Regions from separate parts of the Homo sapiens genome. Here regions 1 and 2 are each linked to region 3. Evidence: promoter capture Hi-C in 16 types of primary human blood cells and fetal thymus (Javierre and others, 2016). All regions are on one chromosome and are shown on one strand. The core of a region is centred on a gene start or on the middle of the fragment in contact, and the rest is flanking DNA. Distances in the headings are between cores, read along the strand shown.

Region 1 (2,700 bases), core at 181-2,680, 210 kb after region 3:
GTCGGCTGTGCTCCACATCTCCAGGATCGTGGCAGGAAGTCACTATGGGTAGGGGGTGATGGGGAGAAGTAGCCCAAGGAGAACTAAGCAGAGGCCAATCCACCCTGGCTTTGTTCCAGGCCAGCTAACTTCTTCATGTCGTATGGGTCTACCCCCTACGTATCTGTCCCTACCATTATGCTAGTGTGTCCCCCCATTTGTCCCCTTCCCATCTATTAGGTTCGATAAAAACTGATTGGCCATCTACCAGGAATGAAATACTTAGAGTACGTGGCTGATAACCCCATGAAAAGTATCATCCCCATTTCACAGATGAGGAAACTGAGGCTATAAGAGGTGAAGGAACTTTGAAGATACTAGCTAATAACAGCTACAGTCTGGTTCAGAATCCAGGAGAGAGGTTTGGAGTTTGTGTTGGGAAGGGGAGCGTGGGGAACAGGTATACTCACCCCTCTGGCATGAGGGCAGGTCCTCACTCCAAGTTAGGTCCCACTGGCACATGAGGACACTGGATCCCACTACCTGGTAGCCAGGGTAGCACTGGTAAGTGACCACGGTGCCGTGCACTAGCTCAGGCTGCGATGGGCTCTTCCAGCCATTGGGGATCTCAGGCAGCTCCGGACATGTGTCATTGCGGGGCACCTCTGGGGGCACAGAGGCACAAGATGCAGGCCCTCGGCCAGCACCAAAGTGACTGTCCCCCTCACCTTGAGGGCACTCTGGCTCCTGCTAGTTTGTCCTGGACCTAGACTGTCCTGGGCGGGCTCAGGGATCCATTCCTCCCTGCTCAAGGGCCCCTCCTTGACTGCCTGACATTGCTCTGTCTCCTAGATTCCAGGGTTAGCATTTAAGCTTTGGCCTTACTTCCAAAAGCACCTTGACCAGTTCCTTAGGCCTGAGAGATGGGGCCAGGTAGGGTGAGGGAAATCGTCACTTCTATGAAAGATTGTCAGAAAGATAGAAGCCAGCACCTTTCCTTAGTTCCCCCATTTTTGTTTGAAAGTTGTTCTGGCCAGGTGCAGTGGCTCACACCTGTAATGCCAGCACTTTGGGAGGCTGAGGTGGGCAGATCACTTGAAGCCAGGAGTTCGAGACCAGCCAGGCCAACATGGCAAAATCCGGTCTCCACTAAAAATAAAAAAATTAGCCAGGCGTGGTGGCATGTGCCTATAATCCCAGCTACTCAGGAGGATGAGGCACGAGAATCGCTTGAGCCCAGGAGGTGGAGGTTGCAATGAACAGAGATCACACCATGGTCTGGGTGACAGAGGGAAACTGTCTCAGAAAAAAAAAAAAAGGAAGAAAAAGAAAGTTGTTCTGCTGCCTACCCAAACCCCTCTTGCCACTATAGAATTCTGGCTCTCCCTCAGGGCAGATGGAGAACAGGACTAGCTTCCTCCAGGTGATCCCTGGTGCTTTTCCAGCTTACTCTTGTCTGAGACAGCATTCAGGCACCTCACTGCCCTAGCCTCTTTGGCTTGCCATGGCTTGCTGTCTGCACTCTGAGTGGGGTAGGGACAAGCTCACCAAAGAAGTGGATGACGAAGCCCTGCTGGTAGCCCAGCACTGAGGTCCCGGGGTCCGACTGGAACTGAATGGTGACATCAGCCATGGAGGTAAAGAGCTTGAAGTGGCTACGGGGCCCTGAGTACTGGCCCAGAACCCGGGCCGTCAGGTCATCCCCATCATAGAAGGTAAGCACATCACCAGGGCCTATGCGCAGCCTGTGAAGGAGGAGCGTCAGGGCAGAGCCGGCCTGGGGGCCCGAGGATGGGCTGGACAAGGGATATCCCCAGACCTCAGGAGTTGGCTCGGCCTGACCCGGTAGGCACTCACACTCGGATGTCCAGCATGATGCGCTTGTCCTCTTCCACATGCACACCCCAGATACAATCCTGCCCACGACCGTAGGGCTCTGGCCAGTTGGGAGAGAGTACCACGCCAGCCGAGTCTGTGATCTCCCCGCTGCACACGGCTGGAAGGCAGAGGAGGCCCAGAAGGGTCTTTTCAAGCTTACCATGGTGTTGCTTACCATCTGCCCGCAGGAGTGCCCACAAATTGCTGGGACCCCCCACCTCCTCCTTGGAGGAAGCCTGAACCACGCATATCACAGGGCCCCTGTGGCCCCGGGCTCTGCTGCTATTCTCCTGGTATGACCCTGCCTTTTGCCCGGTAGGCCCATCCACTGGTGTCTACTGACCTCGGCAGGCTGGCTCTGTCTCATTCCACTGGGGGTCGTGGGGGTCAACACACTCGATGATGATGGAGCCCTGCTCCAGGGTGTAGCCAGGGTCGCAGCTGAACTCCACAGTGGTACCCACAGGGTAGGTGGGTGTGCTGCTGCTGAAGTTACCGTATTTGACAAAGGGCTCATAGCAATGGCCCTGCTGGAAGGCTGTAAACCACAGGTCCCAGCCCAGCTCAGCCTTGACTGGTATTAAACACAGTGGGCAAGCATCCCCCTACTTCCCTCCCCAGAGCCTTTCTTTTCCTGGGTACGAATGACAAATATATGTCCTGGGGTTGGAGCAGGAATGTGATGGAGGAGGGACAGCCAAGAGCATCCATCCCTATTATGCTCAGGAGGCCATCTTGATTACCATCCTGTTCCCACTGCCTGGTTTTGTGCTTAGTACACAGAAGGTACTCCATACATGTTTTTTGAATGAATTAATCAATGCATGCATGCATAAATGGTTC
Region 2 (2,700 bases), core at 96-2,595, 190 kb after region 3:
TTTCTTTTCTTTCTTTTTTTCTTTTCTATTTTTTTTTTTTTTTTTTGAGATGGAGTCTTGCTCTGTTGCCCAGGCTGGAGCGCAATGGTGCGATCTCTGCTCACTGCAACCTCTGCCTCCCGAGTTCAAGCAATTCTCCTCTGGAGTAGCTGGGATTACAGGCACCCGCCACCACGCCCAGCTACTTTTTGTATTTTTAGTAGAGACAGGGTTTCACTATCTTGGTCAGGCTGGTCTCGAACTCCTGACCTAAGGTGATCTACCCGCCTATGCCTTCCAAAGTGCTGAGATTACAGGCGTAAGCCACTGTGTCCAGCATGTTTGAACCTTTAGATTCCTTCTGAGAATTATCTGAGTACTTGGGATGGTGAGCTCTGGAATAGTTGTCTTCTGTACCTGAACTGGCTTGTCTTGGAAAACTGGTAGCTTTTTAGCCAACAAGCCAAGGACCTCTACTTTATTTTCTGGCTTCAAAAGAGCATAGCCTGCATTGCTATGAGACATGCATTCTTTTCCATAGGCAGAGATGACAGTGCCCTATGAAGACAGAGCTCTTGCAGAGTATCTTCCCATTTTCACTGCTGTTGATAAATTTCCTACCAGATCATTTGTTAAAAGGCCCTGGCCTACAATTCCTGGCCAGAAAGCGACCGTTCACTGCTTTTACAACTCACTATTTTATTTTATTTATTTTATTTTTTTATTTTGAGATGGAGCCTCACTCTGTCGCCCAGGCTGGAATGCAGTGGTGCGATCTCAGCTCATTGTAGCCTCTGTCTCCCGGGTTCAAGAGATTGTTGTGCCTCAGCCTCCTGAGTAGCTGGGATTACAGGCATGCACCACCACACTGGGCTAATTTTTGTCTTTTTAGTAGAGATGGGGTTTCACCACGTTGGCCAGGCTGGTCTTGAACTCCTGACCTCAAGTGATCCGCCCTCCTCAGCCTCCCAAAGTGTTGGGATTACAGGTGTGAGCCACCACTCCTGGCCCCAGCTCACTATTTTAACCACTACCTGATCTTAAAGACATGCTGTTAGTTATAAAGCTGTTCATAACAGTAAAGCCCTAAATCTTCAGAGACTGTACATTCAATTGGAGGGTATGTTTCTCAGTTTGGTGTGGCTCTCTGTGAGGCCTAGAGGGCCTACAAAGTGTTAAGAGTAATATTAACATACAAACCAATTCCTAAAGCCAACCTCTTCAGCATGACTCCAACATACCTAGACTCCCATAAACAAATCCAAATGGCCCATCTCTACTGCTGAGAAGGTTATCTAGATCAGTCTATTTCTGGAGTCATCAAGGAGAAAACCACAAACATACATCCCTCAGCTAACTGTAATGCCTATACTGACAGATTTCTGTTTCAAAGATTCAAATCGAAGCCCAGAGCCAGATGATCCCAACTCTCAGCCCGAGGTTAAAGTTCAGTTTTAATTTAGAATGCCTTGCATTCACTAATAAGGCTGCAGCTCAACACTGCAAGTAGAAGATGTTGGTAGTTGTCATGGTTCTTGGCGCTCTAATTAAGAGGATCTATTTCAAGTCATATACCAGTGTGGTTGATCTGAGTCTAACCTCACTCATCTCCCTCGCCTATTAATACATGTGAACCTGCACGACATTAACATTTACTTCAGATTTAGTCGCTACCAGTGGGACCTGTTGCTCCACAGCACCATGTTAATTATCCATCCAGAACAAGCAGTTTCTCAGTCTGGAATTGGAGGGGAGAGCGGGGGATGGGGGAATAAGAGAACAAAGGGAAGAGGCGAGAGGTAGAGGGAGAGAAAGCAAGTAGATGAAAAATATTTAAGAAAAAGTACACTCCATTTTCTCTTTCTGGATTAACAAAATAATTCTATTTAATACAAATACTTAACAGGAACACTATGTAAATAGCATATCCATATACAATACACCAACAGCCTACTAAGCAGGTTCTCTTCCAAAAGAGGTCAGTCACATGAACTGGTAGGGTCTTTCTTGTCAGAACCCGTAATTCTTCAGGAATCAGAAGCTCTCTAGCCATCTATAGCAGTTTCAGTTTCAGTCAAAATAAAACATCAGTTGGACTAAAAAGAAAGAGTTCACTGCCCCTATCATCATCTGTATGCCTCCCCACCCTTTTTTTTGGTGGGGGAAGAGGTGTTCAGCAAGCAAACAATAGGACTGAGCAGTTTTGATTTTTAATTTCACAGTTCACGGGGCTCATCCATCCATCTGAGGACCACTACCAGATAAAAATCCTGCAATTATATTTAGTCTCACTGTGTAAGACAAACTGCAAAACATAAATACATGCTCAGAACTAGCCTACTCTCCCTCAGACTGGCCCTGCGGCCCTCATCCAGCTCAGAAAATGTGTTGATACTAGCCAAAATGGGGAGTGAAGGTGATCACTGAAAGGACCACAATCATGTCTCAGCCTCCTAGCAGCCATTTTGCTCTATAAAGGGAGCCATGAGCACAGAGAACCAGCCTTTTATAAACGAAAACAAACTTATGTCCTGGAAAAGCTAAGTGGTGCTGGGTAAAGTTTAATTTAAATTTTAATTTAAATTAAAAGTTGCATTAATACACCCAAATTTTAAAGTGCATGCCTTGAGGGAACAACATTTAATGAAATGTAAATGTCAGCAGAAATAGCTAGCTTCCTCTGGACACTTGTGTGGGCATCAGCTTTTCTCTTCAAGTATG
Region 3 (2,700 bases), core at 171-2,670:
TAGCTCCACACAGACCCTACCCTTTCCCCTAGCCCAGTTAGAAAATAAGTCTGGGCCGGCGGCGGTGGCTCACACCTGCATAGGCAGTGCTTTGGCCAGGAGGATCCCTTGATCCCTTGTGGCCAGGAGTTGGGAGACCAGCCTGGGGACCATAGCGAGACCGCTGTCTCCACCAAAAAAAAAAAAAAAGAAGAAAATAAGGCTGGGTGCGGTGGCTCACGCCTGTAATTCCAGCACTTTGGGAGGCCAAGGCGGGCGGATCACTTGAGGTCAGTAGACTGAGGCCAGCCTGGCCAACATGGTGAAACCCCGTCTCTACTAAAAATACAAAAATTAACCAGGCATGGTGACGGGCGCCTGTAATCCCAGCTACTCTGGAGGCTAAGGCAAGAGAATCCCTTGAACCCGGGAGGTGAAGTTTGCAGTGAGCCGAGATCGCACCACTGCACTCCAGCCTGGATGACAGAGCAAGTCTCCCTCTCAAAAAAAAAAAAAAAAAAAAAAAAAAAAAAGTATTTGGTGCTTACCGGGACTCTATCTCCATACTTTGGAGCAGGGCAAGCCAGGGCCTGCCTGGACTGGCCATTAGGCCTGCCTAGCTTCTGCATAGCCCGGGGCTGGGCGGTCCCCGGGAGTGCTGCCACCTCCCCTACACTTTCATCCTGAGGCAGGATTTGCTAGACGTCGGCTTGCCTCTCTTCCCCAGCAGGAGGGCAGGAGTCACTAAGTGCTGCAGAAAAGATCCGCGCTGGAGATTGCCCGTCCCCCCCATGCCTTTCCCCAGAAACAGTTGAGAGAATGGGTAGCTGGTGGGACCAGACCGGTTTCCCAGAGGACAGGAAGGCCAATAAAAATATCAGCTGCCTGCCTGGAGTGTGGTGTCTTCAAGGGTGGGGGTGGCGACCAGGCACCCCAGGACTGGGCTGGGCCCGACCTCGGTGGCAGGGCTGCGGCCAAGGGAGGAATGTGGGCGCAGCCGGAGGCTGGGGCCGAGGTTCCTCTGGCCCAGCGCCCAGTCCAGCCTCCCCGCCCCAGCTGGGCTCCCCGGAGCTGGTTGCCAGGCTTCGGCTGCCTAGCACCTGGAAGCTGGGGCCACGGTTCCTGGGCTGCTCACGGCCCCGGAGGCCGAGCTGTTGCCTCTGGAGAAGAAAACCTTTGTGGCGCGGCCCGTCCCCTTTTCCGACCCGCACTTCCCCGGGGCCCGCGGGCTCTGGGGAGAAGCGGAGCCACGATCTCTGTCCCCCAGGGGAAAGAAAAGCCCATGATCCCGTGGGTGGGCGAGACTGGCGGTCACCAGACCCAAAAACCATGCACTCGGGGGTGGGCGGGGCCGCGAGGGCGCGCATTAGGACCGCGCGGCCGCGGTCCGCCCTCTCTTCCGGAGGGCGGGCTTCACAGCCGAGCCCTGGCCGCGACCGCCAGTCGGCGCCGCCCGGAGCCGGGAGCGCCGCTCCAGCGAGGCGCGGGCTGTGGGGCCGCCGCGTGCCTGGCCCCGCTCGCCCGTGCCGGCCGCTCGCCCGCCATGCCTGGCTTCGACTACAAGTTCCTGGAGAAGCCCAAGCGACGGCTGCTGTGCCCACTGTGCGGGAAGCCCATGCGCGAGCCTGTGCAGGTTTCCACCTGCGGCCACCGTTTCTGCGATACCTGCCTGCAGGAGTTCCTCAGGTGCTGGCCGGGGAGCAGGGGACAGCGGGGGCGGGGCGGGGCGGGGGGCGCCGCCTGGGGAGGGTCTCGGGCCCGGGGCAAGGCGGGCCTTTGTCTGCGCTGCGACCCTGTGACCTCAGGGGCGCCCCGTGACGTCACGGGGAGGGATGACGTCAAGCCCCGAGGGAGGCCCCCCCCGCAGGAATCCGAGGGGTCCGGGCGGGTCCCAACTGCCCGGCCCGGGGCGGAAGACCTCGGCGCCTTCTCGTGGGGTCAGGAGGGGAAGAGGCCCTTCCCCGTCACCTGAGAGCCGGCGCGGCCTCAGCCTTGAACTTTGAATCCTGGGGGAAGAGGACAAAACCCGCTCCCGCGTGGCAGTTTGAGCCTCCGGAGCTTTCCCCCATCTAACCTCTTCTGATTCTTCGAACGTTCAGAGAACGGTAGCTATTGTTCTCCCATTTCACAGATCATGAAACGAGATTCAAAGAAAGGCTGCGACTTGCCCAGGGTCACATAGTTACTTAAAGGCTTAACTAGGATTTAAACCCGGACTGCTTATGATCACACAATGGAGGAAGGACTGAATCCTCCCCCGAAGAAGGACCCCTCTAGGCGGCTCCCCTCTCTCCCGGGGGCTGGAGTAAGGCGGGTGGTCCATAAGTCATGAAGAAGGGGGTCGCACTCGTGTTGTTACTGAACTCCCGCTGCCCTCTCAGGACGCAGGTTAGCCCTTGGCTCTTGGGCATCCATCAAGTTTCTGGGCGCCCTGTATGTCTTGAATCTCCTGCTCACGCAGGGAACCCCTCAGGCCCGGGTGTGGGAAGCAGGGTGAAGGAGCCCCGACTCTTCGGAGGTCATGCCCCCAGAGCGCAGGGGAAGGCCGAGTCGGCCACTGCCTGGCTGTTTGCTGGGACGAGGGGATCGAGGGCCTGGCAGGGATAGTACCTCTGAGACGCCTGCCTCCGGTGCTCCCTCCCGCCGTGCCTCCCTCCCTCGCTCGGTCCTCCGTAGCTCCTACTGGCGGAAATCTCAGCAGGCCCTTTGTTTTCTGTTCCC

The links. Contacts are between HindIII fragments. The CHiCAGO score rates a contact against its expected background, and 5 or more counts as called.
Region 1: a fragment that was not itself captured here is called in contact with the fragment with the promoter of TRAF4 in region 3 in 2 of 17 cell types (endothelial precursors and fetal thymus); the score reaches 5.8 in endothelial precursors.
Region 2: a contact is called between a fragment that was not itself captured here and the fragment with the promoter of TRAF4 in region 3, in 9 of 17 cell types (activated CD4 T cells, naive B cells, non-activated CD4 T cells and 6 more). The highest score is 11.0, in activated CD4 T cells.

The regions. Positions count from the first base shown.
Region 1 is chr17:28,957,498-28,960,197 of GRCh38, forward strand. SEZ6 (seizure related 6 homolog) reads right to left here. Exons shown (of 17, transcript NM_178860.5): 8 at 2,201-2,395; 9 at 1,837-1,975; 10 at 1,528-1,724; 11 at 450-644; 12 at 1-42. All of the region lies in intron 1 of LOC105371716 (a long non-coding RNA gene), which reads left to right. Among named protein-coding and RNA genes, the nearest start is that of PHF12, 7.3 kb to the left of the region's middle. RefSeq lists enhancers at 1,451-1,951, 1,952-2,452. The HindIII fragment of the contact is 1,160 bases long and covers 851-2,010 here.
Region 2 is chr17:28,934,583-28,937,282 of GRCh38, forward strand. The region is part of intron 2 of PHF12 (PHD finger protein 12); the gene reads right to left. The region is part of intron 1 of LOC101927018 (a long non-coding RNA gene); the gene reads left to right. Among named protein-coding and RNA genes, the nearest start is that of PHF12, 16 kb to the right of the region's middle. The HindIII fragment of the contact is 7,754 bases long and covers 1-2,700 here.
Region 3 is chr17:28,742,591-28,745,290 of GRCh38, forward strand. It overlaps TRAF4 (TNF receptor associated factor 4), which reads left to right and starts at 1,421. Exons shown (of 7, transcript NM_004295.4): 1 at 1,421-1,665. The coding sequence starts at 1,523. NEK8 (NIMA related kinase 8) reads left to right here. Exons shown (of 15, transcript NM_178170.3): 15 at 1-865. RefSeq lists enhancers at 497-1,497, 521-815 and silencers at 521-815, 1,270-1,679, 1,700-1,899. The HindIII fragment of the contact is 4,112 bases long and covers 1-2,700 here.